3 separate regions of the Homo sapiens genome follow, and all the other regions are linked to region 1. Evidence: promoter capture Hi-C in 16 types of primary human blood cells and fetal thymus (Javierre and others, 2016). All regions are on one chromosome and are shown on one strand. The core of a region is centred on a gene start or on the middle of the fragment in contact, and the rest is flanking DNA. Distances in the headings are between cores, read along the strand shown.

What was found. The method cuts DNA at HindIII sites, captures the fragments that hold promoters and counts their contacts. A CHiCAGO score of 5 or more calls a contact.
Region 2: a fragment that was not itself captured here is called in contact with the fragment with the promoter of GIMAP6 in region 1 in 1 of 17 cell types (neutrophils); the score reaches 7.4 in neutrophils.
Region 3: a contact is called between a fragment that was not itself captured here and the fragment with the promoter of GIMAP6 in region 1, in 2 of 17 cell types (activated CD4 T cells and non-activated CD4 T cells). The highest score is 6.6, in activated CD4 T cells.

The regions. Positions count from the first base shown.
Region 1 is chr7:150,630,649-150,633,879 of GRCh38, reverse strand. It overlaps GIMAP6 (GTPase, IMAP family member 6), which reads left to right and starts at 1,495. Exons shown (of 3, transcript NM_024711.6): 1 at 1,495-1,711. RefSeq lists enhancers at 1,545-1,634, 1,645-1,734, 2,005-2,084. The HindIII fragment of the contact is 8,992 bases long and covers 1-1,630 here.
Region 2 is chr7:150,343,601-150,346,831 of GRCh38, reverse strand. It overlaps LOC107986858 (a long non-coding RNA gene), which reads right to left. Exons shown (of 3, transcript XR_001745420.3): 2 at 3,191-3,231. Among named protein-coding and RNA genes, the nearest start is that of RARRES2, 3.6 kb to the right of the region's middle. The HindIII fragment of the contact is 2,219 bases long and covers 553-2,771 here.
Region 3 is chr7:150,361,065-150,364,295 of GRCh38, reverse strand. REPIN1-AS1 (REPIN1 antisense RNA 1) reads left to right here. Exons shown (of 4, transcript NR_183429.1): 4 at 119-1,638. Among named protein-coding and RNA genes, the nearest start is that of REPIN1, 6.1 kb to the left of the region's middle. RefSeq lists a silencer at 116-165. The HindIII fragment of the contact is 2,705 bases long and covers 293-2,997 here.

The DNA.
Region 1 (3,231 bases), core at 246-2,745:
AACATTCTAAATACTTTCTAAACACTTAGGCAATGGAATGGTAAAGATCAACACATGACTTTTAAGAATTAATTAAGTGGCTGGGCGTGGTGGCTCACACCTGTAATCCCAGAACTTTGGGAGGCCGAGGTGGGCAGATCATGAGGTCAGGTGATCGAGACCATCCTGGCTAACACAGTGAAACCCCATCTCTACTAAAAATACAAAAAATTAGCTGGGCGTGGTGGTGGGCACCTGGAGTCCCAGCTACTCAGGAGGCTGAGGCAGGAGAATGGCGTGAACCCAGGAGGTGGAACTTGCAGTGAGCCAAGACCGCACCACTGCACTCCAACCTGGGCGACAGAGCGAGACTCCGTCTCGAGAAAAAAAAAAAAAAAAGAATTAATCATGTTACACCAGGCGCGGTGGCTCACGCCCATAATCCCAACACTCTGGGAGGCCGAGGTGGGCAGATAACTTGAGGTCAGGAGTTTGAGACCAACCTGGCCAACATGGTAAAACCCCGTCTGTATTAAAAATACAAAATATTAGCCGGGTGTGCGGACGCCTGTAATTCCAGCTATTTGGGAGGCTGAGGCATGAGAATCGCTTGAACCTGGGAGGATGAGGTTGCAGTGAACTGAGATCACACCACTGCACTCCAGCCTGGGTGACAGGATGACATTCTGTCTCAAAAAAAAAAAATTAATTGTGTCAGGGTATTTACAGAATAATTTAAGTAGAACATTAAAAGATATATATATGTACACACACACATACTATGTAACAATTTTAATAAATACACCATGATTATCAACCAGAACAGAACCAAAGAAAATTAGAACTATTATAGTAGATTGAGTGGAATTTTTTTAGGGAATCTTAACATTTTAAAATCATGTGGTAACAATATCATCACCTATGCTCCTATGTTCTGAATTTCTTCCTTCAATGGCTTCCCTTTAGCCACAGTTATCAGATCTGTCAGTAAAGTCCTAGAAAACATGTTTTTGAGGATGCTGAGGTGTTTTCTCCCTTGGCCTGTGTTTAAAATATTGTTCTTCCCCCATAACAAGTGCTCTCTTTAATCCTACATTTTAGACATTCTTTTGTATTTTCCCTTTTCTTATAGTGCAGATCTTCTAGAAGCTGTAACAATTGTAATTACCAATGATTCATGCCTTAGAGGTAATGAGTGTCAGACCTTGTCCTGAGAGAAACTATTAAAGGAAGGAGAGGTTGGGGAAGAAAGGAGACAATGACTGTTTGCCCCAATACTGAGGCATAGAAGTTCCCTGGGGAAGAGGTGGGGTTCAGAAAAGAGAGATCAGGGAAAGTCACTCCTCCTGACACAAATCTTTCTGAGGCATCTGCCTCTTTTTAAGCTCTGAGTTCTAGTTATCCTGGCTCAGGATAAAAATAATCCCACCACTGGTATCCTCCCTTTTTCTACTTCCGAGGCTGCAAAGTGCAACAGCAGACTCTTCTGACTCAGGAAGGCCGGTGCTCCTACCCACTTCCTGTTCCTCCATCTCCAGCGGACACTGCTCTTTCAAGGGCAGGTCTCCAGCCCAGCTCTCTGAAAACATTTTGCTGAAAATATAAGCAAACATCGGCCTTGTCCTCCTTGTGTTCATACACTGTGGAAGCTTTTCTCTGCCTCCTCCGTGAGAGTGCGTGGCCGGGAGACCAGAAACGTGGTCCTTTCTCTTGCCTGTGAGCTGGTGCAGAGGTAAGTCTGAGTATTTGTGCGTGTCATATTTGGATGTGTATGTGTGGGTGTTTGTGTTGTACATGTGTGTTTACATGTTTGTATGTGTTAACATGAATGTGTGTGAGTGATGTTTGTGTGTGTGATGTTTGTGTTGTGTGTGTATGTGAGTGTTGTGTGTGTGTTGTGTATGTATATTTGTGTTTGTGTATGTGTTTGTGTGTTCACCTGCATGTGTGTGAGTGGTACATGTGTTTTGTGTATGTGTGTGTGTTGTGTATTTGTGTGTGCTGTGGTGTGTGCAGGTTTGTAATGTGATAAAAAGAGCTGTGACCAACACGTCTGGAGAACTTTTTGCCTTGTGACAAAGTCACTGTTTAATATTTGGCAAGATGCTTCTCTGAGTTTTGCTTTCTTCCAGAGCAATATGACAAGGATGGTACTATCTGTTCCATCTTCTGTGTTGGAGACAATGCACACTGTGGCCAACATGGGAGGTGCCATTCCGGGGAGGGTCTAGGAGGAGGCAGGGAGGTGCCTTGCGTGCAGACCCATTCCCCGAACCCTGCGAAGGCACAGTGCAGGTTCCTGCATGCCACAGCCTAGTCCCACCCGGCTGTTGTTTCCTGTTAAGCTGCCTGCCCGTTCTCTCTAAAGGAGGAATGAGATTACATTGGTAAAGTGCTGCCTCAATTTCCACCAGGGATGTAAGGAAGCCAGGGACAAAGAGATTGAGAGGCCACCAGTTAGGAAGAACTAACTCCCTTTGGTAGGTGAAATATTGTACTCCTTCCAGAATCTGGCTGTTCAGGTCTGAGTAAGGCTGTCCGCCTGGCCTGCTTCTTCTTTCTTCCTAGAAAGTCAACAGACCTTCCTGGACTCCCTCCATGCCCAGCCCAGCACTGCAAAATTGATCTTTACCAATCATAAAGCAATATCCGCATATATACTTCTGGGATCTGGGGAGGACTGGAGTGTTTGCCAGGTGAACAGAATAGAACAAACATCTAACAATGTGGCAATGAGAAAAACATGTCTATCAGGTTCCCCTGGACTTAGGTTTCCCCACACCCCAGACCCTTCATCTGGATCTGTTTCATCTGGTTGTGAATGTCCTACATGATCTGGAAAAACAGTCATGGACCATGCAACTTCCTCCTCAGTCCCACAGAGAAAATCCAGCAGAGAGAACCTTATGGGATCTTGGCACAGAGAACTGTGTTAGTCTATGAAGCCAGGACACATTGCTGTCATGGGAAAGGGGACAGGAGTTCCTGGTTGGGAATGATGTGGCCCTAATTTGCAAAAAGGACTAAGAATTGCTCTAAAAAATGTTATGAAGTATGTTGAGACCTTAATAGGGGAAGAGACATTCACAGGCATCTAGTTCAGGCCCAACATTCTTACTGATGGGATGCTGAGGCCCAGACAGAGCTAACTGGTGGCTGCTTCTCCCCTGAGGTCTCTGGCTTCCTTCCCAGCTCAGCCCCTGCAATCCCAGTCCTCTGTAACCCTCACTGCACAGTCTTCTCCAAAGTCTG
Region 2 (3,231 bases), core at 413-2,912, 290 kb after region 1:
CTGAGCTCCTACCGGCTCATCTTCATCCACCCACCCCTCTTACTCCATGTTGGATCCCCTCCCAGTGAGGTCCTAACCTCTTCCCTCCTCACCCTCCTACCGCCAGGGCAAGCTACTTCCTTCTCCAATCCCCAGTCTCATCTCTGCTCTGATCTCGATCTGCATGCAGATAACACAGTTTCCCATCTGTAGCCAGAGCTCCACCAGCCCTGTTCAGTCAACATCTCCACTGGCATGTTCCACAGACACCTCACACTTCTCTCCTCACTGCCCTCCTGAGTCTCTCTCTCCCTGAGGATCAAAACCATGTCTACAGCTGTTCAAGCCAGAAACCTGGGATTCACCCCTCTCTGTTGACCTCGACCCCAACATCTTATCAATCACCAAACCCTGGTGCTTTAGTCCTGAGGTATTTCTGGACTTTGTTTTCCCATCTTCACTGCCTCCAGTTTTGTCCCTGCCACATTCGTCTCTCACCCGGACAATCACAATTATCTCCTGCTGAGATTTATTCCCTTTTATCCACTCTCCACACAGCAGCCAGAGTAAGCTTTCAGAAATGCTATTGGGACCAGGCGCGGTGGCTCACACCTGTAATCTCAGCAGTTTGGAAAGGTAAGGTAGGAGGATCACTTGAGCTCAGAAGTTCAAGACCAGCCTGGGCAACAAAACAAAACCTCCTCTCTCCTGAAAAAAAAAATAATAATAATAAAAACTAGCTGGGTGAGGTGGTCCTGTAGTTCTAGCTACTGGGAGGCTGAGGCAGGAAGATCAATAGAGCCTAGAACATGGAGGCTGCAGTGAGCTCTGATTATGCCATTGCACTCCAGCCTGGGCAACAGAATAAGACTTTGTCTCAAAAAAAGAGAAAAGAAAAGAAGACAAAAGAAAAGCTGTTGCTTTGCTTTCTGATTTTAAAAGTATTAAGGCCAAGCACAGTGGCTCAAGCCTGTAATTTCAGCACTTTGAGAGTCCAAGGTGGGTGGATTGCTGAACCTAGAAGTTTGAGATCAGCCTGGGCAATGTGACAAAATCCTGTCTCTAGAAAAAAATACAAAAATTAGCCTAGGATGATGGCATGCACCTGTGGTCCAAGCTACTTGGGAGGCTGAGGTGGGAGGATCGCTTGAGCACAGGAGGTTGAGGCTGCAGTGAGCCATGATTGAGCCACTGCTCTCCAGCTTGAACGACAGAGCAAGACCCTGTCTCAAAAAATAGTTTTTAAAGTTTTTTTATATTTTAATAGACAAATTATCCACAAGTTATAAAAATTTAAAAGTACAAAGGGAGTACAGTTTTCCTGCCTCTGTTTTCCCCAGCTGGACAGATCCTCTCCTCACAGGCAAACACTGTTATAAGTTTCTTGTTTTTCCCTTCTAGAAATATTCCATGCATTTACAAACACAAAAATTTGTTCATTTTTAGTTTTAGTTTTTACTCACATAATTGGTAACACATGCTCTGCCTGCAATATCCAATATGGTAGCCACCAGCCACAGGTTTAGGAACACTTGCCATGTGGCTGGTGTGACTGAGGTATTTATTGGAATGCTAAAACAAGAGATTGATGCTTCCAATGTTGCTTCATTTCACTTTAGGGTACATATTGAAGATATTTGTGCTCAGTTTTCTGAAATTTATTCTATGCAAGTCTCATGGCTACAGCCATTAAAACTAATTCCGTATTTAAGTGGAAATGCTATGAATCACTGCTGGTTTTATGGAACTGTTGAAAGCAATGAAAGATAATGAATTTAATGATCTTTTCTTTACCAAAGCTCATTGTCAGGGTTGTAGAAGAGTTCTCCTAAGATTTACTGTACTTTTAACTAACTCCAAGATTTTCTTGAGACAGAAGCCATGATTACCAAATATACAACAATAAGTATTATTATTATTTGTTTTGGGGACAAGGTTTTGCTCTGTGGCCAAGTCTGAGAGTGGTGGCTTGAGCCTATAATCCCAACACTTTGGGAGGCTGAGGTGGGAGGGTCATGTAGTGGCATGATCATAGCTCACTGCAACCTTGACTTCCCAGGCTCAAGTGATCGTCCCCCGCCAGCCTCCTGAGTAGCCAGGACTACAGACTTTTGCCACCACACTCAGCTAATTAAACTTTTTTTTTTTTGTAAAGATAGCCTCTCTCTATATTGCCCAGGCTGGTCTTGAACTCCTGGGTTCAGTGATCCACCCACCTTGGACTCCCAAAGTGCTAGGATTACAGGCATGAGTCACTACTCTCAACCCAAATATTCAATAATTAAAAATAAAAAAGTCAGTGTTTTCTCACCAATACCACACTACATATAAATGGGCTAAATTTGAATATCCAAGGAGATGAAACCTCATTTGTGACCTAGCCAGATAAATATAAGCATTTCAAATTAAATATTTTCATAATACTGACAAATAATTACAATCTACATACTTTTGTCACAAGAATCAACATACAGAGGTTTTAATTGTAATATACAGCATTGTGTAAATTGGCAAAATTTCAAGAAAAATGTGAAGAATTCTTAGTTGATATTGATAAATTTAGAATGGCTTTTGAATTTATGCAATATCATTTTTGAATTTATGCTAATGGTACCGAATTGACACAAGTTGGAAAATGTACTTAACTTCAATAGGTGTAGTTTTGCAACTGATATGCTCTTACTTCAAAGTCAAATCACTTCTTCTAAAAAAAACTATTTTTGTCAATGTGGTTGCAAATATTAAAGGACAATGTTTTTTGGTACTCAGTTCAGTTATTGGAAAACTAAGCTTGGAACAACTGGATACGTGAGTCTACTTTTTTAGCTGTCATGACCAGGAAGATCATTAACCATCATTAAATAGTGAAGTCCTGTTGTTGCTCCCCTGGACTGGGACATGTTACCTGGAGCTGAGCTCATGAATATGCCCTAAGTAGTCCTTTCACACATCCACACCTATGAGTGCTCTGCAGTAGGACTGTCCACCTCTTTGGGGTGCACCTCACATACCTACACCCAAAGTGAATTTTGTGTGGCCATTTAAGTATAGCCAGACTGGCTCCTTCCTCACCAACTCCCACCACCCTGCTCCCAACCTACCTCCCCACCTCAACTGCCTCACCTCCCCTGCAACAGACCTGATGCAACTTTCCCCCCAGCCCCCACCAAAGTCAGGATGAGTTTCCCGCTTTGCTCAGCTCAAGTCCTACCTTGTCCTGGAAGATTTCTCTCCTCACCCATCCTCAGGACG
Region 3 (3,231 bases), core at 396-2,895, 270 kb after region 1:
TGCGAAGCAGAATTCCTTCATAGACTCACAAAGTATCTTCTCCTTGTCTGTAATCCGTCTTTCATAGCAGAAAGGTTCTTCATTAAACAAGGCCCTAACCTTCTTTCTCTCTCCCCAGCCTCCATTAGAGGAAATGTCTCTTCTCCCAGTCAGGAGTTAACCACCTGCTGTAACTTCCTCTTTAGCATCGCCAGAGGAAACTAAGTATGACTGTGCCTTCACTCTGCAGAAAGAAAATGAGTGGCAAAGGAGTTGCGAAGGGATTCCTGAGCCTTTATGCCAGCTGGAAGCTTAAGGCCTTGGTATTTGAGACTTCACCCTTCAAAATGTCTTGGAGGATGGCCCAGCAACCAGCCAAATGGCCCAATGGCCTAGCCCAGTGGAGACGGTCTCAGCTTTTGACAAGCTAGCCGGAGAAAGGGCTGGACAGGAAGGGGCCCACTGGACAGCGAATATTGATAGGGCCCCTGGGAGGATCAATTTTCCCCTCCAACAGTGCCTGGCTCCCATTATCAGATTAGATGCAAAGTGGGCTGGCATGCCAGGGGGTGACAGGAACAGTGTCTCCAGAAATCCTCTGTGAAGACACCCAAGTATTGTTCAGAAGTGGCCCTGTATCTGGAAGAGGGAAAACTGCACCCACTTCTTGCAGACATACAGTTCCAGCTCCCCCCACAGGACTTGCTCATACATCCAACAAATATTTAATCAGTGCCCACCATCTGCCACTGTGCCAGGTGCCCGGCCTCATCATGAGTCAGGCAGAGGTGGTCTGTGCAGTTTTCCCACAATGTGAGAGGGTGCTGAGAAGACTTTTAACGCTTATTTAACTACGGAAATAACTCTTGGTTTGGTACCTACTACAAAATAAAAACAAGCGCTTGTTGATAATTTCTGGATGGATGACTGTGGAAAGCTGGAGGAGACTGAGGATCAATTTGCTCTAATGAACCTTCCCTTGACTATCATCTCCGTTACCTCCTGCCGCATCCCTACGGCAAATATGCAAGACTCTCACGCAGCTAATTTCCAGGGGTTTGCAGTCTGGGGAGGAAGCAGAAAGCACATCCCTCACTGACCCTGAGGAGGGGCAAATCTCTGGTAGCAGTCACAGGTACGTGCTGTACACACTTCCCATCCTTTGAGCCTTCCCAGCTGGAGAGCACCAAGAGAACGCAGTTGGGGAGGCCCCGAAAGATGAAGGGTTGTTGAGCTTGAAGGCAGTGAAAAAGTAAATGGAAGAAAGCTCTCTGCCCTCCACTGCCTAAATGCAGGATATAGATTTAGAAGGATAAAAGGGGTCTGCTCCCTCTCTCGACCAGGGAAAAGTTAACCACTGAAGACAACTTTAGACTCTTATGGGCCTGGAGCTGGAACCAGAGGAATGGACATGAAGGCGCTTTACTAACTCTATTTATCTGCCAGTTACTTACCTTTCTACAAGTTCTCCCCTTAGACACTCAAAGTTCTTTTCCTTTGTCCTGTCGCTTCCCTAAAACTTGGCTTTTCTTTGTTGAAGATGCTATACAAGCTGGAATTCAAAGCTACCACTTTGAGAACTACTCAATTCCTGCGTGTCTCCCAGGCAGATGTGAAATACACATGTTAATAAACTTCCACTGGTTTTTCTCTTGTTAATCTGTCTTTTGTAACAGGAGTCCGTTCCAACCACAAATCTAGGGGGGCTGAGGAAAAACCCCTACAGTGGCACACACTGAAGAAGGCCCCCTCACTTTCCAAGGTTTCCCATCTCAGGTGGAAGGAGGCCTGCTAAGTCATGTGAAAATTATTCAGGAAAAGATCAAAGTGCTTCTACTTCTGCAGTTCTAAAAATATCTTTAAGTGCATGAAAACATGTATAATGCACGACAGGGACGCACGCTGTAAGAGTAGCCCTGGGCTGAGATCAAATGTCAGTCCCCAAATTCCACCACACAAGATGCTTTCCTGCCGCATATCTAGTTCCCAGAGTCTCTTGCTAAAAGAAAAAAGAATCCAGCTGGTAAAATGAGTATCAGGTAGATGGCTCAGATTTCCTGCAGAGGAAACTGGTACATGCGTGTGCCCCATAACGGTGAGGCCTGCTTCCCACCCTTATCCCCCACCCCTGCACCATAGTCTCCCTCACCAGGACTCTGCAGCAGTGGCCAGCCACTCCTCCTGCCTCCGCTCTGGCCCCATAAAGTCCTGTCTCCACTTAACCAGCTTGGCCCTTTAAACATGAATCAGATCAAGCAGCTCCCTTGCTAGGGAACTCCGACGCCTCCTGCTAACATTTGGACTGACATCCAACCCGCGGCCATGGCCTGCAGGGTTCCTGCAGACCTCCATGCGCCTGCCAGACACTGCCCCAGCAGCCGCCACTCATTTCCACCTTAGGGCCTTTGGAGTTGCCTAGACGATCCTCCTCCAGGTCCGCATGGACTTCCGTTCTTCACTGTATTCAGATTTTGGCTGAAGTCTCCTCGCCTCAAAACACGCTTCCCAACAAACCCCTCTAAAATAGCTTCACACCTAGATGAGATTCCTAGGACTGCTCTAACAAATGACCACCAGCTCGGCCTGAAATAACTGGCATTTATTATCTTACACGGCTGGAAGTCAGAAGCCCAGAATGTTTCACTGGGCCAAAGTCAAGGTGTCGGCAGGGCCCCACTCCCTCCAAAGTCTCTAGGGGAGAATCCTTCCTTGCCTTTTCTGGCTGGAAGAGCTGCTTCCCAGGCATTCTTGGGCTCGAGGCCCCTCCCTCTGTCTCCCAAGCCCTCAGCGCAGCATCTTGCTACACTTGTCACTTTGCCGGCCTGTGCTGCAGCTGAATCTCCCCCTGTACCCCCGCCAACACAAAGACACATGTAATTACCCAGATAGCCAGGAGAATTGTAAAAGCAAATACAAATCAAAAAGAATAAAAATAAGTTTTCTTTCTCCCTGGTGAAAAAAGGCAGAGATGCTCCTCACCAACACCCCCTTTTCTCAGCACATTTGCATTAGAAAGCTTGTGATTGTGAATTTTCCTCTGCCCATGTGAGATATATGCAAATCTTTTATTTTATTTTATTTTATTTTATATTTTTATTATTTTTTAGAGGCAGAGTCTTACTCTGTCACCCATACGGGAGTACAGTGATGCTCACTGCAGCCTCAAACTCCTGGGTTCAAGTGGTTCTTCTGCTTCAGCCTCCCGAGTGGCTGGGACTACAAGCATGCACCACCACACCTGCCTAATTTTTT